Regions from separate parts of the Homo sapiens genome. Here all the other regions are linked to region 2. The links are contacts of gene promoters, found by promoter capture Hi-C in blood cells and fetal thymus (Javierre and others, 2016). All regions are on one chromosome and are shown on one strand. The core of a region is centred on a gene start or on the middle of the fragment in contact, and the rest is flanking DNA. Distances in the headings are between cores, read along the strand shown.

Region 1 (3,891 bases), core at 561-3,060, 120 kb before region 2:
TGGAAATAAAACAATGTTACTAAATTCTAGCCAGATGCATTTGCTGCTTTCCCTTTCCTCAAAAGGGAGGGCTGTAGATGTCAGAGAGACTTTAAAGACTAACCCCATGGGAGATTTCCTCCTCCAAGTCTGTAATTAGAAAGGCTGAAAGGGAAATAAAGAGTATGCATAACTTCCTCATCATGTAATATAGTGGTATATAATGCCAAGTCAATGACCACCTAAATCAATTTTGCATAGTTTTGTGTATGTGCCCTAGACTTTGAAAACACTGATCCAGAGAAAGGACAAAGGGGGTGGGCATGGTGTCCCCTGACAAGACTGAGCCTGGGGACGCTGACTGCTCTGCAGCCTGGGGTTACGTCCTACACATGAGACCCCCATTTCAGGGGCTCCCCAGTACCCTGAGAAGTCCCTGGATTTTCCCAGTGAGCCCTGAGGTTGGGGGGCACCCGAGTTCACCTCCCTTGATTCCGCTCTGGGAATCTAGGCCCCTGCAGCCTGGGGAGGAGAAGGAACCTTGAGGAGGGGTGAGGTGGGTGTGGACTTTGAGAACTAGCTCTGGTCCTAACTTGCTGGGGAATCTTGGTCAAGTTCCTTCCTTTCTCTGGCCCTAGTTTCCTTTCTGGAAAACTGGGTAAATTGAACACTAAGGACCCAGCCTAAACATGCTTGTACTTTATGTATGTTCCTTGAGGCTTTACAGGTTATGGAGCAGGGCATCTGGCTGTACGCAGCAGAGACCCAGCCACTAGACACTTAGCCCTAGGAAGGGCACTGTATCAACCCCAGCCGGCATCCTGTCGTATAGAATCATGGACCCCGGAGTCAGGCAGACGCGGGTTCTGAATTGCATCTCTGCATGGCCCCAGGGTGGTTTCTTTGCCTGCATGCTAGAGATAAAAATCCCCAACTCACCAAAGTGTACAAGTTAATGTAGATGATGCATCTGAAAATAGCCGAACAAAATGCAGTGCTCAGAAATGTTAGCTTATAAATGCTCTACAGCAAGACCAAAGATAATCCCTTGCCTATGTGAATACAGGACTCGGTGGTTAACATAGTGCTGTTTGCACAATGAGCTCCATCACCCACATGGTGACCTCATTTTATAGATGAGGAAACTGAGGTTTAGCGAGGCTAAGAGACTTGTCAGGACCTGAGCTTGGGTCTCCCAGCCAGCAGGCTGGTGCTTTTTCCATTGTGTGGGAGTTGCCTGGCTTGTTTCCAGCCAGCTGTCCTGTGGGCTCTATTCTAGCATAGGGTTTCTCCCCTAAATGCAAACTCCTAGCCTTGCAGCCTCACCACTGAATCTAGGAACAGCCCTGAGGGACCTCTGAGGTCCTAGGGACCCTGGAAGTCTTCTTAGCAACAGATGGGGTCAAGTGTGGCTGCCTCCCTCATCATGGCACGCCCTCATGGGGTTTGCCTGGGGGTTGCCCTGCACCTTGGGGCCAGCAGGAAGGCAAAATTAAAGAGGCACCATGAGCCAGGGGAGAGCTTGCTGGGCAGCAGGCTCCATATTTTGTTTTGTTTTCTTTTTTTTTTTTTTCTTTTTGAGACGGAGTCTCAGTCTGTTACCCAAGCTGGAGTGCAATGCTGCGATCTCAGCTCACTGCAACCTCCGCCTCCCAGGTTCAAGCAATTCTCCTGCCTCAGCCTCCCGAGTAAGGGGACCATAGGCACCCACCACCATGCCCAGCTAATTTTTTTGTATTTTTAGTAGAGACGGGGTTTCACCATTTTGGCAAGGCTGGTCTTGAATTCCTGACCTCAGGTGATCCACCCGCCCGCCTCAGCCTCCCAAAGTGCTGGGATTACAGGTGTGAGCCACTGTGCCTGGCCTAGGCTCCATATTTTCATATTCATTCAGTACCTGCTGAGTACCAGGCCCTGTGCTGGCACTGCCATAGGACATGAAGGTTTGCCCTTGAACAGTTTATAGTGTTGTGGTAAGACACACCAGCACCACCCCGGGATAGGTGTGGCAACAGGCACAATCCAGTGACAGCTGCAACCACCACCCATTACCAGGGACTTAATATTCTCCAAGCACCAGCTATGCATATGCTGTTCCACCCTGACAACACCAGGACAATCACCCCTTTTTTATGGGTGGAGAAACTGAGGCTCAGAAAGTTATGTATTTTGTCCCAGGTTGGTGGCTAATGCTGAATTTAAATCCATGTCATGATATGTCACCACTGGGGGAAGCTGACTGATGGGTACACAGGATTTCTCTTCACTATTTTGGCAACTTCTTATGAGTCCATAGTTTGAAAATAAGAAGTTAAGGGGGAAAAAAGGATTTCAGCCCTTTCTGGTGACTCACACCTGTAATTCAGCACGTTGGGAGGCCGAAGTCCAAGAGTTCCAGAGCAGCATAGGCAACATAGTGTGACCCCCACGTTTACAAAAAATTAAAAAGTTAGCCGGATGTGAGATTCATGCCTGTAGTCCCAGCTACTCGGGAGGCTGAGGCAGAGAATGACTTGAGCCCAGGAGGTTGAGGCTGCAGTGAGCCATGATCTCACCACTGCACTCCAGCCTGGACAACGGAGCAAGACCTTGTCTCAAAAAAGAAAAAAAAAAGTATTTCAGAAAGAAGGACCCATTTGAAGGCCGGGTGCAGTGGCTCACGCCTGTAATCCCAACACTTTGGGAGGTCAAGTAGGGCGGATCACTTGAGGTCAGGAGTCCGAGACCAGCCTGGCCAATATGGCGAAACCCCGTCCCTAGTAAAGAAATACAAAAATTAGCCGGGTGTGGTTCGGGGGATGGGGGGCACCTGTAATCCCAGCTACCCGCAAGGCTGAGGGAAGAGAATCGCTTGAAACCGGGAGGCGGAAGTTACAGTGACCCAAGATCGCACCACTGCACTTCAGCCTATGCAACAGAGTGAGACTCTGTTTCAAAATAATTAATTAATTAATTAAATTGAAAGAAAGACCCATTTGAGCAGAAACCTGGAGGTGGGACAGCCTACGAGGGCCCGGCTGAGGGGAGGTGCTGACCAGCCAGTCCGGCTGGTCCTGTTGGGTCATGTTGGGTAGGCAGGACTGAAATTCCCAAAGGAGCTGAGGTCCAGGCTCTTTTCTGCCTCCTGACCCAGACTGGTGTGCCATGAGGATTCAATGAGCGCCAAGCACAGGGACTGGCCCACGGAAGGTGCGCCACAAAATGTACATTTACAAGTGTTAGGCAGGCAGTACAAGGATCACGTCCTCCAGTGCAGCACTCTGCAAATACGTAAACCTGCCTTCTCCTCGTCACAGCCCTAAGGAGGTATGCGCTACTATTTAATACTTCCATTTTACTGAGTAAGTGACAGGCTCAGAGAGATAAAGTGACTTTTCCTAGATCGCACCACTAATAGATGACAGATACTTGGTTTTACCTCATGACTCCAAATCCGTTGCTTTTTCCCAGCCCTGGAATTGGGTAGGGTTTGGGCCGGGGACCCCTCCCCACTCAAGACTCCTGCAGGAAAGGTCCGCCCTTCCCCCAGGGACTTTTCACCTCACCCACCATCAGCTGGGCCGTCATGGAACTTTATGGAGCCTGAGCTCTCCTCCTTCAGGCTGAGTGGCCATGCCCAGCCTTCGTTTCCCCGGCTGTAAAGCAGGGCCAACGGGAGCTCAGAGCTGTGTGGGGCTCCCCAGATGTTGGCGGTGACATGCTTGGAGAAATGCCAGGCTCCTTAGGGTGTTAGGAGAGACCTGTGGCCACAGCTGCTGCTCCGACTGGGACCGGGCAGGCGCTCCCAGGGACAACAGACGGAGGCAGAGGGAAGCCCAGGTTCCCACCCTCCATTTTGTAGGCTCCTGCAGCCCGAACGCCTTCTGCCTGAAAATGGCGGCTGAGAGAGGCCAGGAGGCAGGATGCAGGGCT
Region 2 (4,113 bases), core at 996-3,495:
ACACACATCAACATGGAGATCACACACACATCAACATGGAGATCACACATACATCAACATGGAGATCACACACACACGACATGGAGATCACACACACACATCAACATGGAGATCACTCACACACATCAACATGGAGATCACACACACACATCAACATGGAGATCACATTCACACACATCAACATGGAGATCACACACACACAACATGGAGATTACACACACACATCAACATGGAGATTACACACACAACATGGAGATCACATTCACACATATCAACATGGAGATCACATTCACACACATAAACATGGAGATCACACACACACATCAACATGGAGATCACACACACATCAACATGGAGATCACACACACAACATGGAGATCACACACACACATCAACATGGAGATTACACACACATCAACATGGAGATCACATTCACACACATCAACATGGAGATCACAAACACACATCAACATGGAGATCACACACACACATCAACATGGAGATCACATTCACACACATCAACATGGAGATCACAAACACACATCAACATGGAGATCACACACACACATCAACATGGAGATTACACACACATCAACATGGAGATCACATTCACACACATCAACATGGAGATCACACACACATCAACATGGAGATCACACACACATCAACATGGAGATCACACACACACATCAACATGGAGATTACACACACATCAACATGGAGATCACATTCACACACATCAACATGGAGATCACACACACACATCAACATGGAGATCACACACACACATCAACATGGAGATTACACACACATCAACATGGAGATCACATTCGCACACATCAACATGGAGATCACACACACACAACATGGAGATCACACACACACATCAACATGGAGATTACACACACATCAACATGGAGATCACACACTCATCCACATGGAGATCACACACACACATCAACATGGAGATCACACACACATCAACATGGAGATCACATTCACACACATCAACATGGAGATCACAAACACACATCAACATGGAGATCACACACACACATCAACATGGAGATTACACACACATCAACATGGAGATCACATTCACACACATCAACATGGAGATCACACACACACATCAACATGGAGATCACACACACACGTCAACATGGAGATCACATTCACACACATCAACATGGAGATCACATTCACACACACAAACATGGAGATCACACACACATATATCAAATGGGGATTACACACACATCAACCCCAACATGGAGATCACACACACAACACAGAGATCACACAAGTCAACATGGAGATCATACACACACATCAACATGGAAATCACAAACACACAACATGGAAATCACACACACATATCAACATGGAGATCACACACACACATCAACATGGAGATCACACACACATCAACATGGCGATCACAATCACACACATCAACATGGAGATCACACACAACACAGAAATCACACACGTCAACATGGAGATTACACACACATCAACATGGAGTTCACACACACATCAACATGGAGATCACACACACTCAACATGGAGCTCACACATACACCTCAACATGGAGATCACACAACACAGAGATGACACACACAACACAGAGATCACACAAGTCAACATGGAGATCTCTCTCTCTCTACACACACACACACACACACACACACACACACACACACACACTGGCACAAGCCCAGCATTCATGGCGCAGCCATCTCTTGTACTTGCTAGCAAAACACCACCTGTGGAAAGTCAGCTCAAACTTCCAACCTCATCCCTCACAAAGGGGGAATGGAGGGTTTGGTTTTGGCTTTCACTGGAGTCTGCAACAAGAACTGGCATCATGCTGCCCATTTCCCGCCTCTCCCCACCCAGACCCCTGCCTCAGGGACGCCTGTCCTCAGCCCAGCCCTCAGCTGCAGCCAGGCCTTCAGCCTCCGTAACCCCCGCTCAGGGTCCCCACCCCCTGCAGCCCTGTCCCTCCAGGATGCATGGCCTTGTCCTGTGTGGGGGTGGCCGAGAGCACTGCCCCAGCCCTGGGTACCTTGGGCAGGAAGCTGGCAGAGGCCAGGGCTGCCATTCAAACAGGGGCAGGTGGTTTTGCCAGGAGGAAGTTGACAGTTCAACTTCAAACATGGGTGACGCAGGCCCCACACTGCCTGCTCCCCGTCCCACCCCTCCCTGAGCACGCCACCCCGCCCTCTCCCTCTCTGAGAGCGAGATACCCGGCCAGACACCCTCACCTGCGGTGCCCAGCTGCCCAGGCTGAGGCAAGAGAAGGCCAGAAACCATGCCCATGGGGTCTCTGCAACCGCTGGCCACCTTGTACCTGCTGGGGATGCTGGGTGAGTACCCCTCCCAGGTGTCCTGCGAACACCCGGGCTCGCTCCAGTGCAAGGAAGGAGTTCCCAGTTTTACCCAAGGCTGACTCTGGGATCCACATGTCAGCCCTCTGGAGCGTTGTGGAGATTTGGGGCCACTGGGATCCCTGCCTGCCCCCACTAAGCCGCAGCTTGGCCCTCTGTCCTGCATGTCCCACCCGCCAGGAGCACAACCTTGCCTCTCTCATGCGCTGTTGAGAACCCTGCTTTACCCTTCCAGTGCAAGAGAGACTGCAGGGGGGACCCGCATTTGATGGGGCCCAGACAACTTGATTCCTAGGCTGAGTTGGATTTTAGCAGAGCATTCAGGCCTCCCTCTGCGAGGTCCCCCACTGACAGCCCAGCCTTTACTTGGTCGCCTCCAGAGACATGGAAACTCGCCGTCTCCGAGGCAGCTCTGATGATGCTCTGGACAGACAGTGGGCCGAGGCAGGGTGGAGCCGCCTCTGAGGACGATGTCTGAGCAAATGTCAAGGACTCATAGCGGAAGTCCTAGGCCCTCTCATGCCCAGTCCTGGGTCAGTCCCAGAGGGGCCCAGCCAGGCCGGCTGGGATGAGTACACGCTGGGCCTGCTCTCACTCCAGCCCTGGGTTGTAAGCCCAACCCTGTGTGACCTCGGATAGGTCCCCAAGCCTCTCCAGGCCTTGATCTCCCCATTTATGAAATGTGGGGGTTGGGGGTGTGAACTGGATGAGGCCTGACCCACTTCCTGAGGATTTAGAAGGTCTGGCAGGGTGACAGAGGTGCGTGACTCTGGGCTGGAAACAGGAGGATGCGAGCAGCTTCCAGGCTGGCAGGGAGAGGGTCCGGAGGCCTTGCCTGCCTGAGCAGGGAGCCTCAGCAGCCTTCTAGGGAAACCGGGTGTGCAGGTGTGAGTGTGGGGGAATGCATGTGTGTGTGTCTGTGTGCATGTGTGTGAGAACTGTGTGTGGGGGAATGTGTGAGTCTATGTGTGTCTGTGTGAGTCTGTGTGTACGTGTGTGAGAACTGTGTTGGGGGGTAATGTGTGACTCTGTGTGTGAGTCTGTGTGTGAGTCTCTGGGCATGTGTGTGAGTACTGTGTGTAGGGGAATGTGTGAGTCTGTGTGTGAGTCTGTGTGTGAGTCTCTGGGCATGTGTGTGAGTACTGTCTGGGGGGGAATGTGTGAGTCTGTGTGTGAGTCTCTGGGCATGTGTGTGAGTACTGTGTGGGGGGGAATGTGTGAGTCTGTGTGTGAGTCTGTGTGTGAGTCTCTGGGCATGTGTGTGAGTACTGTGTGTGGGGGGGGAATGTGTGACTCTGTGTGTGAGTCTCTGGGCATGTGTGTGAGTATTTTGTGGGGGGGAAAGTGTGAGTCTGTGCGTGTGAGTCTGTGTGTGAGTCTGTGTTCATGTGTGTGAGAACTGTGTATGGGGGAATGTGTGAGTCTGTGTGTGAGTCTGTGTGTGAGTCTCTGGGCATGTGTGTGAGTACTGTGTGGGGGGAATGTGTGAGTCTGTGTGTGAGTCTGTGTGTGAGTCTGTGTGTGGGAGTCTGTGCGCATGTGTGTGAGAACTGTGTGTGTGTGCTTTCATGAGCACAATGCGGCCTCCAAAGGCAGGATTATCTCCCCAACACATGTGACAATGGCACCTGTGCACACATGTTCACATGGTTCTTCTCACATGTAACAACAACAGGTACAAAATGCCTTCTGTCCCAAAGTAAGAGGCCTGAGACAGACC
Region 3 (3,882 bases), core at 63-2,562, 73 kb after region 2:
TGACTCTACCACTTACTTGCCATAAATCCTTGAGGAAGTTACTTAGCTCCTCTAAGCCTCAGTTTCCTCATCTATAAATTGGAGACATTATCAGCTTCACAGGGCGCCCACAAAGAGCACATGGGAAAAGGCGTTCAATAGGTGTCTCCAGGGCTCCTCCAAGTCAGGCTCTACAGCTGGGAGACCAGAGTGGCCATGGAAGGCATCACTGAGGAGGGAACATTGAGATGATGGCTGAATAGCCATCCACGCAGAAAGCTGGGAGAAGAACCTTCTGGACAGGGAGAACAGGAATTGCAAAGGCCCAAGGTAACCAAGTTCAATAAAAGGCTACTTTTCCATCTCCAGTCTTCCGTCCACACCTGAACACACCATCGTCAACCAGGCCATCGAGGCCACAAGTTACACACCATGACCTCATCACACACTTGATTTGTTGACTCGGAGCAAGTTACCAGCAATGAATTATCAACCCCTTTCCCAGAATGGCAAGCCCTGGGGCTATGTGCAAACTGAGGCGGGAAAATAAGAGGTGTCAATAGAGCTGAGTTTGCTCTGGGCCCAGGGCCATGTAGATAAGCTGGTTATCATCACCAGCTCCAGCTCCAAGAGGCACAGTGGGTGCCACTGCCACCACCAGGAACCCTGGGGTTTGCTTGTCCTCCTGCTGGAACGCCCAGCACACCCACAGGGCCAAGAGGAAAGTAAACGCTCTTGACTAATCTCCCCCAGTGCTATCACAGGGGCCCCCCGAAGGTGGCTGCTCCTTTGGCAGAGTCTGGTTCTTCCATTCCTTCTTGGAAGATGGCCATGGGGCATCAGCACCTGACCATGATGTCTGGTGGCTAGAATTCAACTTGAAATCAGTTGAGACCCAAGTAATGCCCAGGCTTTCCCGGTGGGTTTTCCTTGCTCCATTCTTTGTCTCCATACAGTGAAGCCCCCAGAAAGCATCAGTTGTTCATCCCTCATCAGGGCCTTCAAAGTTCCAAGGTCTTTCTTGAGCCTCAGAGAGGCAACAAGTCCTTGAATGCACCCTTGTCTGACCCTCCCAACTCAGCCAAGAATCCCCTAAAGATGAAATAGAACATTGGGTTTCAATTGTCGAAGTCTGACCAGAAGATGTTCCTTACTCTAAATACAGGCCAGTGTCACACCAACTTACAAGGGTCAGTGTGTTATGAACAAGGAGGGGAAGCTGTGGGGCTGCCAAGCTGGGCACAAGTCAAGCACTAACCGGCACCACTGCCTCCTGCTTCCTGGTGCCACTCCAGCCGGGGCTGCCCCCACTGTGTCTGGCAGCTTCCAATATTGCTTTCCTGCTGCCATAAGATGGCAGGTCTGGCAACAGAACTGGAGCCGGACTTAAGGAGAAAGAGGAAGGAACTTCAGCTCTGGCACCTGCAGACCCCCGAAAGTGACCTACGGAAGCTGGCAGCAGGGACTGCAATTGAGCATTCTCTCACCTTTCCCTTCTCAGAGCTCCCCAAGCCTATGCCCAGGTGGGAAGAGGATTACCTGAGAGCCAGAAGCCCCGGGTCCCAGCACTTCACTAACCTACCTTGCATCCCTTCTGTAAATTATACACCCCAGCTCTCAGTTTCCCCATCTCCGGGATAACAGACTGGACTTGTCCAAGAATAGCAATCATTCCCAATCCAGTGCCGACGCTGGTTGCTAGAACACGTGGCTGAAGGGATTGTATGTTGCTCGGGATTCTGGGGCCACATCCAGTGGTAGGGGGTGCTGTGGTTCGCTGGCAATATCTGCCTTGGACTCAGAATGGAGCATGGTAGACCAGGTGCCACGTCACTGACATGCAGGAGCTAAAGGACCTTTGCACTCCTGCCCAATGGAACATTCCAGCACTTGGATTCTGTGGGATGAGATCTGACAGCCATAAGGCAGAAGTTACCAACTGGGAAGCTCATGGATTCTTCAACAGAAACTCGAGTCAGGCTGATGAATTACCTTTACTAAAGGAATGAATAACAATAAAAAAAATTCTAGGTCCAAGACGTGCCAAGAAAGGTTAGATATATTGGACAATATTTTAAAAGGAGAGATGTTTTGGGTGACCTGCTATTTTGCTGTCCAGCTTGAGATGATGCCAATGGCCACAGAGTAATAAAAGGGCCACTGAATATGGCCTCGTTCCCATGGCTCACCAGCAGTAAGCATCTCTACCACCTCCATGTCTGGAGCAGGAATTCCAGCAGGAAGGACGCAGCCTCCAGAACCATTTGACCAGAAGATCCAAGTGCGACTGGACTGCTGGTAGGTACCACAGAAATCCTAGCTCTCTCCTCCCCACAGCTGGCTGTTCTCTGTTTAAACTTGACTCACTGCATATGTCCCGCTGCCACAGGAGGCCCTTTTCCAATATCTTGTTCCGCTCTGCAGACCCTCTGTTCACGCCCCTGGGCTTCTCTCCCATCCCAGTCTGTCTTGCATCCTGTGCAAGCTGCCCTCCTCTCTGTTATTTAGTTATGAATCCCTCCTCCCTTCCCTTCAAAACACCTCCACTGCTTCAGTCTTTGGCTCCCTCCCTATCCGGGCCCCTGCCCCTTCCCTACAGATGATACTAAAGCAGACAAAGCCAGGGAGGGAGACCCCCATTTTGTTGTTTCTAAAAATGTTCTCATCCTTTCCACTTCCAGGCCCTGATACGGCTCCTCAAAGTCTCAAGCTGATGATCAGACAACCTCGAGGGGTAGTGGTGGGAGACAGCAGGACGAGGGCCGGAGCCGTGGGCAGGGGAGGCTCAGGAGCAACTCAGCCAGTGTGGGGCCCACCCAGGTCGGCCTTGCTTGGGACCCTTGGGATACCACTAAAGACAGAAACTTCAAAATGGAAATGTTTTCAACTTATTACAAAAAAGGTTCAAACATAAAAGTAAAAATGAATAGTGTCATGGACCTCATATTCCATCACTCAGCATCAAGAATTACACTGTTTCTGCAAATCCTTGTTTTATATACACACTCCCCCCTTTTTTTTTTCTTTGTCTCACTTTGTTGCCCAGGCTGGAGTGGACTGGCGTGATCCCGGCTCACTGCAGCCTCCGCCTCCCAGGTTCAAGCGATTCTCATGCCTCAGCCTCCTGAGTAGCTGGGATTACAGGCATGCATCAACACACCCAGATAATTTTTGTATTTTTCGTAGAGACAGAGTTTCACCATGTTGGCCAGGCTGGTCTCAAACTCCTGGCCTCAAGCAATCTACCTGCCTCAGCCTCCCAAAGTGCTGGGATTATAGGCATGAGCTACCGCACCTGGCGACACTCTTACTTTTTAAAAATTTTATTCTTTATATATTTATATTTGCTGTAATATTTTAAGGCATACAGCTTACCATTTCACTGTAAATACTTTATTGTACATTTCTAGGAGATAAGGGTCATATTATATATATATATATATATACACAGCTGTAATTAATATATATATTCAAATATATATATTTATAGCGGCAATGCTCTCTTATTCCAAACAAAACTACCAACTTTTCTTTTAATTACCAATTTTAATATCACCTAATAACCAGTCCATGTTCAAATTTATTTGATTCTCTCAAAAATGCCTTTTAACAGTTGATATATTCAGATCCAGGATCAAGATCTTGAGGTTATCCGCATGTGTTGCATTTGGTGGCTGTTTCTTAAGACTTTTAATGGGCTGGGCGCGGTGGCTTACACCTGTAATCCAAGCACTTTGGGAGGCTGAGGCGGGCAGACCACAAGGTCAGGAGTTTGAGACCAGCCTGGCCAACATGGTAAAACCCATCTCTACTGAAAATACAAAAATTAGCCAGGCGTGGTGGCAGGCACCAGTAATCCCAGCTACTTGGGAGGCTGAGGCAGGAGCATCGCTTGAACCCAGG

Evidence for each region. Contacts are between HindIII fragments. The CHiCAGO score rates a contact against its expected background, and 5 or more counts as called.
Region 1: a contact is called between a fragment that was not itself captured here and the fragment with the promoter of CD5 in region 2, in 7 of 17 cell types (non-activated CD4 T cells, naive CD4 T cells, activated CD4 T cells and 4 more). The highest score is 31.5, in non-activated CD4 T cells.
Region 3: a contact is called between a fragment that was not itself captured here and the fragment with the promoter of CD5 in region 2, in 4 of 17 cell types (non-activated CD4 T cells, activated CD4 T cells, naive CD4 T cells and 1 more). The highest score is 6.3, in non-activated CD4 T cells.

Annotation. Positions count from the first base shown.
Region 1 is chr11:60,977,927-60,981,817 of GRCh38, forward strand. All of the region lies in intron 1 of CD6 (CD6 molecule), which reads left to right. Among named protein-coding and RNA genes, the nearest start is that of CD6, 8.2 kb to the left of the region's middle. The HindIII fragment of the contact is 9,705 bases long and covers 1-3,891 here.
Region 2 is chr11:61,100,244-61,104,356 of GRCh38, forward strand. It overlaps CD5 (CD5 molecule), which reads left to right and starts at 2,246. Exons shown (of 11, transcript NM_014207.4): 1 at 2,246-2,372. The coding sequence starts at 2,318. The HindIII fragment of the contact is 6,487 bases long and covers 1-4,113 here.
Region 3 is chr11:61,173,891-61,177,772 of GRCh38, forward strand. It overlaps LOC124902678 (a long non-coding RNA gene), which reads left to right and starts at 949. Exons shown (of 4, transcript XR_007062691.1): 1 at 949-2,277. The HindIII fragment of the contact is 5,976 bases long and covers 1-3,882 here.